Regions from separate parts of the Homo sapiens genome. Here all the other regions are linked to region 1. The links are contacts of gene promoters, found by promoter capture Hi-C in blood cells and fetal thymus (Javierre and others, 2016). All regions are on one chromosome and are shown on one strand. Each heading gives the region's core, a stretch centred on a gene start or on the middle of the fragment in contact. The rest is flanking DNA. Distances are from core to core; before and after follow the strand shown. Region 1 holds the start of RABEP1 (rabaptin, RAB GTPase binding effector protein 1). Region 2 overlaps C1QBP (complement C1q binding protein). Region 3 overlaps DHX33 (DEAH-box helicase 33).

Region 1 (4,644 bases), core at 356-2,855:
CATAGGTATACATGTGCCATGGTGGTTTGCTGCATCTATCAACCCGTCATCTAGGTTTTAAGCCCCGCATGCATTAGGTATTTGTCCTAATGCTCTCCCTCCCCTTCCCCCCACCCCCCACAGGCCCCGGTGTGTGATGTTCCCCTCCCTGTGTCCATGTGTTCTCATTATTCAATTCCCACTTATGAGTGAGAACATGAGGTGTTTGGTTTTCTTTTCCTGTGTTAGTTTGCTGAGAATGATGGTTTCCAGCTTCATGCATGTCCCTGCAAAGGACATGAACTCATTCTTTATGCTTTCACTTTAGCTTCTTTTAGGGATGTCTAGACTCTGCCATAGAGAGAATGGATCTGGGAAAGAGACCACAGCTTCAGCCATCTGGAAAGGGAATTCTGGGGCCACAAGTATTCAGAACTTGGTCCTGAAGTGCCAAACCCTGTGGACTCCCTCATCCTGGGGTGGGATTGCTGGGTCTTAAAATGTACATAATTCCTGATGCTCCTCTCTGATTTCAAAATAGCTTTTTAGGCCGGGCGCGGTGGCTCACGCCTGTAATCCCAGCACTTTGGGAGGCTGAGGCAGGCGGATCACGAGGTCAAGGGTTTGAGACCAGCCTGACCAACATAGTGAAACCCCGTCTCTACTAAAAATACAAAAATTAGCCGGGTGTGGTGGCGTGCGCCTGTTGTCCCAGCTAGTCGGGAGGCTGAGGCAGGAGAATTGCTTGAACCCGGGAGGCAGAGGTTGCAGTGAGCCGAGATCGCACCATGGCACTCCAGCCTGGGTGTCAGAGTGAGACTCTATCTCCAAAAAAAAAAAAAAAGCTTTTTAAACTACCTCCTTGGCATGGGGCACTCCAGGTGTCGAAATCAGACGGGGAGTGGTGATTAGAGGGGAGTTCCTAAAGTATAGGGCCCAGGGGCCCAAGTATAAGGGCCACACTTTGTGTATATGATTTCTCCTTTCCTGCCATGAGTGCAGGGTCTGTACCTGGCTGTATCTCCAGCATCTATCACGACTGAAAACCCAAACGTATTTGCTGAATGGATAGTATACTGGCCTCTGCACCAGAAGACCTGGGGTCCAGGCCCAGTACTGTCGGAAACAGTTCTTCATACTTTATTACCTCGTTTAAACTTTTCTTAGCCATTATATTGATAAAAATTCCAAGAGGTGAAGTGACTCTCCCAAGGTCGCAAAGCTAGAAGAGGTAGAGGCTGGAACTGCACCCCGCCATCGGTCCTCCTCTCTTACTCATTTTTTTTTTTCCCCTCACTGTGCTGGGGTGGAGAACCGGGACCGGCACCTTCGAGAGGCCAGGCCTCTGCTGCAGCCCCTCTTCTCCAGCTCCGCTCGGCACTCAGCCTCCCCGCGCCGCTGGGTCAGGCGCCCAGCTCCGCCGAAACCCTCCCCTCCCGCCGCGCTCCCTCCGCGCTCCCTCCGCGCTCCCTCCGCGCTCCCTCCGCGCTCCCTCCGCGCTCCCTCCGCGCTCCCTCCGCGCTCCCTCCGCGCTCCCTCCGCGCTCCCGAGGCCCCGCCCCTCCCCTCGGGCCAACGTCACGTGCCGCCCCATCCCCCTGCGCCTGCGCACTGCTTATTTCCCGCTGTCAGGATGAGGAGGCGGAGGTCGGCGGTCGGGTCCGTCTCTGCCCGCGGCTGTGGCGGCGCCGGCGGATCCAGCCTTAGCGGTTTCTCTCTGGGCGGCGGCGGCGGCGGCTCGGTTGACGCCTCCTCCGCCAGCTGAGCCCGCGGGAGCCCAGGACGCCGCTTCCCCGCCCATCCCCGCTCCCCGAGGCCGGCCGCCTGGTCATGGCGCAGCCGGGCCCGGCTTCCCAGCCTGACGGTGAGGCGCCCACCATGGCAGGCGCGGCGGGCGCGGCCTGCCCGGCGTCGGCGTCGCGGGAGGATTTCGGGGCGGGCAGGCGGCGGCAAGGGCGCGCGCAGGCCCCGGGGGTGACCCCGCCGGGCGGAGGCGGGGGCGCGCGGGCTGCGGCGCGCGAGGGCGGCGCGGGCGCCCCGGCTGCCGTCGCTGGGGAGGGGGCGGGAGGCGCGGGTGCAGCGCTTGCGGGAGGGCAGAGGGAAGGGCGTGGGGAGGCTGCTGGGTAGCGTGGGGTAGTGTGGGGAGGGAGCGGTTCTGGGTAGCGGGGGACCGGCACGTGGGTTCTGCCCGTGGGGGAGGATGGAAATCGGGAACATGTGCTATATTCGTTAAAGAAAAAAAATCTTAGCTTAGGTAGTGTACCCTCCCTGCCGCCCCAATCCTTGCTATAGAACTCTTTGCACCCAGTTATGTGACCTGAAAGTAGTTGTGTACAGTAACTGGATTTAGTAGCATTCCCTGAATGGCAGTGTGGCTTAATGGTTAAGTGTTGGGGCCTGGGAGTCTAGAGGACCTGTATTCTTAACCAGCAAGCTCTGGGCTCATTTCTTAGCCTCGTTGAGCCTCAGTATTCTCACCCACGAATTAACCAAGAGGTTAATTCATGCCTTTATATTTTATCTATAAAAATAGCAACACGAATGTGTATATACAATAATAGTATTATGGAGGTATTAGGAATAATGAGAATAGTGTTTGAGAATGCTGAGGCCTACTTGCACTACTTGAAGATATTTGCTTGTGGAACTAAAAAAAAAAAAGTGAAGTCGAAGAAATGTGTCATTTATATTCTTGGAAGGAAAAAAGGGCCCCATCCTAAATAATCAAAGTTGGTTGTCAGAGCCCTTCGTGACCTTCTGGGAAATTGGACTAAGCTGTGCTTCACAGATTGACTACATGGTTCCAGGTTTTACCACCTAGAATAGATGTTTGGAAATAGTGTGCTTGGGCTTTTCCAAGGTCCCACTGTATCTAGTTGTGAAAGTACTTTCTGGTGTATTTCTATAATCAGCGTGTGTGCTTAGCATCTTTAAGTGTGAGTAGAGTAGAATGTTGGGAAAAGGGGCTTGGTACGGAGTAGGTACTTTAAAACTTGGCTTTCCTTGGGGTTGTCTCAAAATAACCTTTCGTGAAACCCTTACTTTTTATTTTTGCCTTTGGGGAACTTGAAACCATGTTATCAGATTTTAAGGTTCTGGCTGCTCTCTGGGAAATGTGCTTCAGAGCCTGTTAGCCTGTAGTTTTGGGTGTTGTTGCTTGCCTAAGGGGAGATGTCCAGTAAGCATTTAGACTTTTATAAGAACCTGCTTTGCTGTTTCTGTTCCAGGAGAAGGGAAGGGAAGCATTTTTGGTGGGCTGTCAGAGAGAGGAAACTGGGATGTCTTCAGGCTGCATTTTAATGATCACCTTTTGCATTTGGTGTCAGGCAAGAAAACTTTGTTCTTCCACAATCCCACTTTGTTACTGCACACAGAGGCAAGATACAGAGAGCTTGTGGTTCTGAACAGGAGTGGTAGGTATGCATAGCTGGCTGCTGCCTTCTCTTGAGTTGCATGGAAAGAAACGTCTAGGGCAGCTCAGGTGACATGACCGTCTGGAATCAAAATTCCCTGCCTCTTTGAAGATATGAAATGGTCTTCCTTGTAAATAGGCAGAAGTGACTAAGCACTTGAACGAGGCTAGGGAAAACTAGCTTTAGGAAATCTTGTATTCTTGGTATTTTAGTTCAGGTTTCTTTCCTATTTCTCAAATCTTGTGACTCTAGGATGAGATTTAGTTTGCATAGATTGCAATTTTTATTTTAAATTAATGTAGGTAGCCATGGCTACTTTTTACAGTAGGAGAGAGATAATTTGGTACGTTTGAGTGCCTTGTGTCAGTGCCTTAGAAGTTCATCTTGGGGATTTTAATTTTTTTTTTTTTCTTTGAGACAGTATCTCACTCTGTTGCCCAGGCTGGAGAGCAGTGGCGCGATCTTGGCTCACTGCAGCCTCGACCTCCTGGGGTCAAAGCAATCCTGCTACCTCAGCCTCCCAAGTAGCTGTGACTACAGGTGCATGCCACTATTCCCAGCTAATTTTTGTATTTTTGTAGATACGGCGTTTTGCCATGTTGCCTAGGCTGGTCCCAAACTCCTGAACTCAAGGGATCCACCTGCCTACACTTCCCAAAGTGCTAGGATTGTAGGTGTGAGCCCGTGAGTCCGGCTTTTGGGGATTTAATTTGTGTCTTTAGCTGAACTCATGTAGACCATTTTAGCTTTAGGCACGTTTGAATTTCCTAGTCCTGCTGATTAAAAAAAAAAAAAATCGCCAGAATTCTTTTGTGTCAAACTGGTGGTGAAAGATAACTAACTGCTTAGTCTTTGACTTTATCTTGTTTTATCCTGTTTCAGAAGCGATTGTCTTTGATGACTTTTTAAAAAAAAAAAAATATTGTCTGTTTTTCATGGCCATATGGTAGATTAGGAAAATCGATTTGTGTGTAAATCGAAGGGATGAAATGTAATCATTTTATTCATTGTAATTATTTTGTAAGTTAAAAAAAGTTTTGGGTTTTTGATACTGCATCTTAGTTTACTTATTTGGAATACAGGTAATTTTAATAGTTAAAGAAATTTCAGTTGATCTGTTTTCCCTTGAGAATTTAAAAATGAAAATTTTCTAATTTTAGTATTTCTTTTAATCTAAGTTCAACTATATCTTTGAAGCATTTGCTCTGGTTTTACTTCACTTTTTTTCTTTTTTTTTTTTTTCTTTTGTAGAG
Region 2 (4,402 bases), core at 799-3,298, 150 kb after region 1:
GAGTCTTCATAAGGGACCAGGGTCAAAGGCTGGGGAACCTGGCCATCCTTATGGCTGAATAACAGCAGCAGCTTTTCCTCTGATGCGGAGCTCTGGGAGCAGACTGGGTCCAACGTCAGGGAGATGCTAGTTGGGGTGGCTGGGAAAGCAGCACACCAGAGAGCTGCGCCGTCCACACCAGGTCATGACCCAACACTGTACTGATGGCTCTTGGGCAGAATGTCTAGGGACTCTGTGGCCCTCATACTGGCTGGTTACTAGGCTGGGCACAGCACTTCCTGAAATGTTTGAAGAGTAGGCATGATCCAGTTAAAGTCTCTTATGCCCCTGCCATTCTCTCTCTCTTTTTTTTTTTTTTTTTTTTTTGAGACAGAGTCTTGCTCTGTCGCCAGGCTGGAGTGCAGTGGTGTGATCTTGGCTCACCGCAACCTCTGCCTCCCGGGTTCAAGCGATTCTCCTGCCTCAGCCTCCCGAGTAGCTGGGATTACAGGGACCTGCCACCATGCCCAGCTAATTTTTGTATTTTTAGTAGAGACGGGGTTTCACCATGTTGGCCAGGATGGTCTCGATCTCTTGACCTCGTGATCTGCCCGTCTCGGCCTCCCAAAGTGCTGGGATTATAGGCGTGAGCCATGCGACTGGACTTAGAGGAATTTTTTTTTTTTGAAAGACCAAAGAAAAACGCTCCTCCTCTAAGCCCCAGGCACAGCCTGTCAGAACTGAGGTAAAAGCTGATTATAGTATTAGCTTACCTCCTGTTCTTCAACCTTCTGCCCTTGCGAGGGTTCCTCCTCACCATCAAATGTTGGTGGGATGCTGTTGTTAATGTTGAAAGTGACCGTGATTCTAAAACGGCAAGGGAAAACAGACAAGGCAAAACAGACAAGGCATGGTTTTAACCGAGCAGGTTAACACATAAACATGGAAATCTGCTACAGTTAAAAAGGCGTATTGAAACAATGTCTCTGTCCTAGCTGGCTGAATTATATGCAGAACTTCAAACTAGGCTGGGTGCCTACATCCAATCCTGAGTGACTCAGCAGGTCTGAAGTGTGCCTACCATGTACCAGCTGCTGGAAGCCAAAGCTGGCCTCAGTTTATCTCAGCCAAACAAGTCATGCATGGGTTACTCCCAACAGGGCCAGTACCCCAGGGCTCACTGCCATGTGCTGACTGGGCATCTCATGGCCACAGCCAGCTGACACTGCCCACCCTGGTCTTTCCAGGGAACCCTTGGTCAAAGTAAGGACCTGAGAGGCTGGTGAGATGGAACAGAAGCCCCTTTAAGAGACTTTCCCCGTCAGAAAATTTGCCCTGCAAGGAAAGGAAGAAGCGATGGAGGGTGCCTCTGCTAAACACCGAGAGCAGCCCTGGAACGGGGAAGGGAATGCCTCACAAAGAACAAGGGCTGTAGTAGAGACTCATCCCTTAGAGTACTTGTGGGAAGTTTCATAATCACAAAGCAGGCCAGACACACCAACTAGTGACAATTTTAAGGTGCAAGAATCCACACCTGACAAATCATGTTCCAAAGTTTGAGTCAAAATTCTTGGGACATAAGGTTTAGAACCAAAACTGCTGGGCTATGCAACTCTGGCAGGCACCATTCCACACAAGAGTACATGAAGGCTGGGCGCAGTGGCTCACGCCTGTAATCCCAGCACTTTGGGAGGCCGAGGTGGGCAGATCACGAGGTCAAGAGATCGAGACCATCCTGGCCAACACGATGAAACTCCATCTCTACTAAAAAATACAAAAAAAAAAAAAAAAAAAAAATTAGCTGGGCGTGGTGGTACGCGCCTGTAATCCCAGCTACTCAGGAGGCTGAGGCAGGAGAATTGCTTGAACCTGGGAGGTGGAGGTTGCAGTGAGCCGAGATCACGCCACTGCTCTCCAGCCTGGAGACACAGCAAGACTCTGTCAGAAAAAAAAAAAAAAAAAAAAGAGTACATGAAGTGCCGCCCTCCACTTGTGCTAACTAGCTGCTCTGCCAGGAAGCCACCTTTCCATGGCAACAGAGGCAGTCTGAGGTTGACAAAATCTGTCTAATTCCAACTGTGCTGACTAAGCTGAGCTCCTGGGCACAGAAATTGAATGACGTTCATCAGAGCATTATTTTTAATGGCCCCCAAATAGCTATGAAAACCTTGCGCAAATGGTGTTTAGGTGAGATTACAGAAGACACAATTGACCTGTGTAGGGCAAAAACACACTATGCAACAGGCAAGAGAATCAGGACCCTACTTCACACCATATTCAAAATGAATCACAGACCTAAACTAAGAGCTAAAACTAGAAAACTTTGAAAAAATTAAGGCATACATCTTCACAACCTTGGGTTAGGCAGTGGTTTCTTAGACGTGACACTAAAAAAGCACAAGTTGCACTTGGTGAATTAGAAGCAAAGTAAAAAATAAATAAAAAAGCACAAGCGACCAAAAAAATAGGTAAACTGAACTTCCTCAAAATTAAAAACTTTTGTGTCAGAGGACATTACCAAGAAAGTGAAAAGGAAACCCACAAGATGGGAAACAGTACTTACAAATCATTAATTTGATAAGATAGTTGTACCCAGAAAAACTTAACTTTTACAACCCAACAATTAAAAAGGTAAATAGGGTGGGCAGGGTGGCTCACACCTGAAATCCCAGCACTTTGGGAGGCCAAGGCGGGCGGATCACGAGGTCAGGACTTTGAGACCAGCCTGGCCAACACGGTGAAACCCTGTCTCTACTAAAAATACAAAAATTAACCGGACGCACGCCTGTAATCCCAGCTAAGGAGGCTGAGGCAGGAGAATTGTCAGAACCTGGGAGGCAGAGGTTGCAGTGAGCCAAGATCGCACCACTGCACTCCATCCTGGGTGACAGAGCAAGACTCCGTGGGGTTGGGGGGGGAAGCTACAAATTGTATGACTCCATTTATATGAAATGTCCAAAAGAGGCAATCCCATAGAGAAAGTAGCTTAGTGATTACCTGGGGTGGCTACAGGGAGGAATAATGAGTGACTGCTAATAGGTATTGTTTGGGGATGACAACAGTGTTCTAGAATTAGGTAGTGATAACTGATGCATAATTCTGCGAGGACTAAGAACCACTTAATTTAATAAACTTCAATAAATGGGTAAATCGTATGCCATCTCAATTAAATCTCATAAAAGCTGTGATTTAAAAAAATTACATACACATCATAAGGTCAATTATGAAGGAAATTCAATTTATTTATTTATTATTGAGATGGCGTCTTGCTCTGTTGCCCAGGCTGGAGCGCGGTGGCGCGATCTCGACTCACTGCAACCTCCACCTCCCAGGTTCAAGCGATTCCCCTGCCTCAGCCTCCCGAGTAGCTGGGACTACAGGCACGTGCCACCATACCCGGTTAATTTTTACTAGAGCCAGGGTTTTAGTGTTAGCCAGGATTTTCTCCTGACCTCATGATCTGCCCGTCCCAAAGTGCTGGGATTATGGGTGTGAGCCACCGCGCCCAGGCTCAATTTAAAAACCTGGAAGATGCCAAATGTTTATCTGTGTAATGAGATTATGGATGACTATAATGCAGAAAAGTGTAAACACTTTAACAGTTTAGGAGATGATGGGGGAGCTGACTTAGGTCACAAACTCCCCACCTCTGATGGCAGCCCTTACTACAGTGTAACCCCATCCTGTTACATAGAAGTTACATATTTTTCATTTTCACCCATACTAAACATTAGAGAGCAGTGTCCTATTTTATCAGGGCTGTAAATCAGAGATCAAACTGATTCTGCCAGTACTTTTTTGCACTACATTTTTGTCTCCTTAGTAACCAGCCCACAGCAAATTTGTGTTCGGTGAATGGACTGCCTGGGGCTTACGAAGTTGTCCAAATGAATCCTTCACTCTCTTGAAACCCATTTATCAAAGTATCCACACCTGAACTCAAGGCTCTTCTGGGGATGACCCAGGATGGGTCCTGCAAGGTTAAGGGAGTTGCTGCCCTGGGATCCCCAGACCAGTACTTACTTTTCCCCGGCAACTTTCCGCACTAATTTCGCTTCTGTCCCATTCAGTTCCAGCTCCCAACCTCCAGACATCTTAGGGAGGGTTTTATGCTTCTGAATTTTTCTTTCCTCCTTAATTTCATCACTCAGGAAATCAACAAAAGCTTTGTCTCCTAGAAAAGAAATCCAGATACATAAAAAGGAAAGCCAGTTAGTCTAAAACATAAAACTATTACCCAGGTTATTGCAGCCAGAAACCTGGACTGTTTCTAATCTCTCTGCTATTACGGTTACTCTAGAAGCCTGTTTCCTTATCGGTAAAAATACCATAATAGTAGTAGGAAGCTGAGCCTGATTCTGGAAAAGTGATTTCCAACAATGAACGCATTACCACTTTCCGCTATAAACCAGGAGAATTTCCA
Region 3 (4,874 bases), core at 975-3,474, 170 kb after region 1:
TCAAACAACAGCAAAAATCATAACCGCCACTGCCCCCTTGACACACTTGTCAAAGAACGACATCACTGTCTTTAGTTCAATTCCCTTTTCTTTTTTGAGACAGAGTCTTGCTCTGTTGCCCACACTGAAGTGCAATGGCGTGATCTCGGCTCATTGCAGCCTCTGCCTCCTGGGTTCCAGCGATTCTCCTGCCTCAGCCTCCCCTATAGCTGGGACCACAGGCGCCCACCACCGCGCCCAGCTAATTTTTGTATTTTTAGTGAGACGGGGTTTCACCATGTTAGCCAGGCTGGTCTCAAACTCTTGACCTCAGGTGATCTGCCCACCTTGACCTCCCAAAGTGCTAGGATTACAGGTGTGAGCCACCATGCCCAGCCTCAATTTTCTTTTTAAATGACCTGTAATTTGGCAATATGTATGTAGATTTTGAATATACACATTAAAAGTGTAACATCTGACCCAGCAATGTTACACTTACGAATTTCACCTGCAGATACACATCGCACAGAGACCATATCGCCAGAACCAAACACATAACAGTGGAAATAGCAGTTGTCTCAGGGGCCAGCTGGGGAGGCTGGGAGACAAGGGGATGAGAAGGACATTATTACTATTTACTATTTTATATATTTTAAACTTTGAACCATGTAAATATAGTACCTATTAAAGAATAAAAAAGCATTTCTAAGGATGTAGTAAATATATACATCCCAATAAGGAGTGATCTGTAAAATGTATTAAATGAAAAAAAGCAGTGTGTTTCTCATTGCTTTTTTAAAGCAATATTTATCAACTGAAGGATGGATAAATGCATTTTGGTTTATTCACAGAATGGAATAGCACTTAGTGTGAAAAAGCATCAGCACAAATATACTATACGGAACAAGCTGAATGAAAACCGCTTACTCAAGAATAACTAACATAAACTTACAAACAACAGGTGGTTTAGGGATACATACGCATATAGTAAAACAGTGAAGAAAAGCAAGGCAATTACAAACAAAATATGGAAGAGTGGGTACCCCAAAAGAGTGGAAGGAGGCGAGGGCAAGTGGGTGGGGGGGACTCCTGGGGGCTTCAATTGGGTACACAGGTGTTAGATTTTAACCATTCCTTACACCTTATGTATCTTCTTCATTTGTATGTAAGAATTTAGCAATGAAAGAAAAAAAATCAAGCACAGAACAATACTCAATGTGTGTTGCTATTTGTGTTTTAAAACATACTACAGGCTGGGCGTGGTGGCTCACGCCTGTAATCCCAGCACTTTGGGAGACCGAGGTGGGCGGACCACCTAGGTCAGGAGTTCAAGACCAGCCTGGTCAACATAGTGAAACTCCATCTATACTAAAAAATACAAAAATTAGCCGGGCATGGTGGTGCACACCTGTAGTCCTAGCTACTCGGGAGGCTGAGGCAGGAGAATCACCTGAACCCGGCAGGTGGAGGTTGCAGTGAGCTGGGATCGCACCACTGCACTCCAGCCTGGGCAACAGAGTGAGACCCTGTCTCAAAACAAAAACAAAAACAAAAACATACTACAGCAGGGGCTTGGTGGCTCACACCTGTAGTCCCAGCTACTTGGGAAGCTGATGTGGGAGAATCACCTGAGCCCGGGAGGTTGAGGCTGCAGTGTGCTGAGAATGTGCCACTGCACTCCAGCCTGGACAACCAGAGTGAGACCCTGTCTCAAAAATAAATAAATAAATACATAAATAAAATCAAACACACTACATATACTCATATATGCATACATTTGCTCTAGAAGTCTACTAGAAAATGGTTCCAGTGGTTGTTCTAGGGGAAGGAAACTGTGAACCTGAGGATCAGGGCAGGACCCTTGTATACCCATCAACTGGTGACTTTGTGTTTTCTTTCCTTCTTTTTTAAACCAATTGCATTTCTTAAGAAAAGGGGGGGCAATAAAAAGAAAAGGAAAATGGTGCGTTGATGAGAGGCCAGGTGCCAAAGCCAATATCATAAATATTTCCAATTATTTTCTTCTTCTGTAGAGAAATTACTAATGAACAGGAGAGATGGATCAAATTCCAGTTAAAGGCAAAGAAATGTGATCTTTGCAGTCCCTGTGCTGATAAAAGTACAATTTCATTACATTTCTGTAGTATCCCAAGGACTCGCATGATGACCTTCACTGGTTCCAGAGGTCAAGGAACTTTATTGATGGTGCTGATAGTACAGAATCTATCGTTTCATAGCTAGGAACACTGGCGCATGCCTGTGGTCCCAGCTACTTGGGAGGCTGAGGCGGGGGGATCGCTGGAGCCCAGGAGTTGGAGGCTGTGATGGAGCCTGTGAATAGTCACTGCACCTCCACCTGGGCCACACAGTGAGACCCTGTCTCTTTAAAAGTCAATCAATGTATCTATCTATCATTTCATGATTTTCAGATGCTTCTCTAATAACTAATGTTGTCATCCACAAAATTAAATAAACAAAAGGAGATGACCAATATACTTTATTTTTTTGGAAGTGTCCATTTGTTGTTGTTTGTCTCCTCACCCACCTTCTGCAAAACTGTGGATTTCACTTACCTGGAGATGGCTTCGACATGAAGTCAAAGGTGAGCACATTTGGGACTTTCATTGCTAGAAGCTGAAGCATCACACTGGCCAGGTTACACCTGTGAAGAGCATGAGACCAGGGTCATGACCTGATCCCTCTGCCATTGAGTCAGAACCCCTCATGGTGGAGTGTGAGTAAAAACTGCAGCTCTGGGCAAGCAGGAGAGACATGGTGACAAACAGCAGCAGTGCAGGAGCAACTGGTGCCTACCTCTGGATCTCTGGCACGGTCATCTTATCAAACTTCTCAAACTCGTCCTCCGTGTAGAGCCGGTAGCAGATGCCACTGTCCTCTCTGCCAGCCCTCCCTGTGCGCTGCCAAGCCTGCGTCTTCGATACCCGCTGCACTGCTAACACCTCAAGACCACTGTCTGGATGGAGAGTGAGCCCCATTAGTGCTTCATCACATGAACAAACTCTTTCTACAGTGTCGATAAAAAGAAGCACACCAGTGGTTCTTTCAGCAACACGGGGGTCCAGAAAGCCTCAAGGCTAGCACAATGGACAGCACAAAACCAGACTGCTCCGCAGCGGTTTGGCCCTAGTGAAACAAGGCTTTGCCATAAGCCCACTGTGAAATCTGTTACAAAAACATCAGAAAAACCTCACGCATGCAGCAAGGGGCGAGAAGAGTAGTTTCCGAGGTCTTGCCTTAGATGGTAGGATGGCCAACCCCTCCAGTTTGCTTGGGACAGAGGGTTTCCTGGGATGTCGGATTTTGGGTGCTAAAACTGGGAGTTTCAGCAAACTAGGATGGGGGTCATACTATCAATCAATGACTACGAAATTAAATGCCTCAAATCACTTGTGTGCTTTATCCTCCCTCCCAGTTCTGCTGTAAGACAGAAATAATGTGATGTCTGTTTTCTAGCAGTAAATGAGGTTCATTTTCTTGATAAAGGTGTATCATTAGCCTGGCACTGGAGACCCAAGCTCTTTCACCTACGTCATCACAAAAAGATACACCTGTGGAAGCCAGGACCCTCAAATGTTTACTAGAGCATTTCAGTTCAATAATTGGGAGCAATAATTTCAGTGGTCTCAAATCCTCTGTGGAATAAAGCAAAGTATAAAACAGACATGAGTCAAGATGACCTTAAGTTAGCTTCTCACTGCACCTTCTTAGGAGAAGCCAGTGCTCCTTCCATGCCTCACCTCAGCCAGGAGATCTGGTTCCTTCCTGAGAAACCTGGGAGCTCAAACCAGCCATATATATATAGTTTCTGATGACACCCTTTGATTGACACCCAGCTGTCCCTGGCCTTAGAGCCGACTTCTGATGGGGTACCAGACCCTCTGCCCAGGTCCCTGACCCTGTGTGCCCAAGTTTGCTCAACCTGGGCTCTTCTTTCCTGCCTCTACTTCCTGTCTCACATACCCGCCTCAGGACTCCTTCGCGGACCTGGAGTGTAGGTGATCTCACTCATGGCGCCTGCCACCTGAATTTGTTAGTTACAAACATGAAACACTCAGGGGAAAACTGTGGGACTACAGTTTCAGTGGCTGCTCACTAGACACAGGAGAGACATTCATGAACTACAAATTCTCACCAGGGTTATACTTCTTTGCTTTAACCATGCCCGTGTCAACTACATATTTTATTCCTGTAATGGTTATGGAGGTTTCAGCGATGTTGGTTGAAATGATCACTTTGCGATAGCCCTAAAAGGAGGAAGAAAACCAAAAAGCCGCATTGACACACGGATGATTCAGAAGTCTTCAAACATATTCTCACCATTAACTTCCACAATTCACTCTTGACCAACAGAAGATGACTCCATTATTAATGGCAGTCATTAATATTAATGGTTGGTCATTAAACCGGGCAGGGGAAGGGGACGCTGCAGTCTTAAAGGTCAATTTGAGGCAATGAGATGCAGTGGAACAAGCACAGGAATCAGAAGCAAGTAGATGTGGGTTGGAATCGTGGCCCTGCCAGTGACTTACTATGCGCCCCCTTGAGCAATTGTTACTTCCCTTCTTGGGGCCTCAGGATCCCCATGGGATCATAACCTGCCTTGCCGGTTCCCACGAGGATGACAGACAGTGGATATAAATGCTAGCACAGTGCCTGGCACGGCAAAGGCACACAAGAAATGGCACTATGGACAAATGCAATTTATGCTGGTCCTTAGAAGTCACTCGTTTACCTTGCAGCTTTGGTTTATACTCTCCCTCATCCCAACAACTGTCTCCCTGCTCCTGTCACAGGAGCGCTGCGTGTGTCACCGCGCATTTTATTCCTGCACCTCCTCAGTGCGCTGATCTGGCACCTGGGTATCCCATCCCATA

The links. Contacts are between HindIII fragments. The CHiCAGO score rates a contact against its expected background, and 5 or more counts as called.
Region 2: a contact is called between a fragment that was not itself captured here and the fragment with the promoter of RABEP1 in region 1, in 2 of 17 cell types (fetal thymus and total B cells). The highest score is 7.7, in fetal thymus.
Region 3: a fragment that was not itself captured here is called in contact with the fragment with the promoter of RABEP1 in region 1 in 1 of 17 cell types (total B cells); the score reaches 5.2 in total B cells.

Annotation. Positions count from the first base shown.
Region 1 is chr17:5,280,679-5,285,322 of GRCh38, forward strand. RABEP1 (rabaptin, RAB GTPase binding effector protein 1) reads left to right here and starts at 1,606. Exons shown (of 18, transcript NM_004703.6): 1 at 1,606-1,842. The coding sequence starts at 1,809. RefSeq lists a silencer at 1,326-2,045 and an enhancer at 3,893-4,411. The HindIII fragment of the contact is 5,707 bases long and covers 823-4,644 here.
Region 2 is chr17:5,434,121-5,438,522 of GRCh38, forward strand. C1QBP (complement C1q binding protein) reads right to left here. Exons shown (of 6, transcript NM_001212.4): 2 at 4,003-4,153; 3 at 753-846. Among named protein-coding and RNA genes, the nearest start is that of C1QBP, 2.8 kb to the right of the region's middle. The HindIII fragment of the contact is 4,188 bases long and covers 1-4,142 here.
Region 3 is chr17:5,451,028-5,455,901 of GRCh38, forward strand. DHX33 (DEAH-box helicase 33) reads right to left here. Exons shown (of 12, transcript NM_020162.4): 6 at 4,133-4,244; 7 at 2,794-2,953; 8 at 2,553-2,641. Among named protein-coding and RNA genes, the nearest start is that of C1QBP, 14 kb to the left of the region's middle. The HindIII fragment of the contact is 6,981 bases long and covers 1-4,874 here.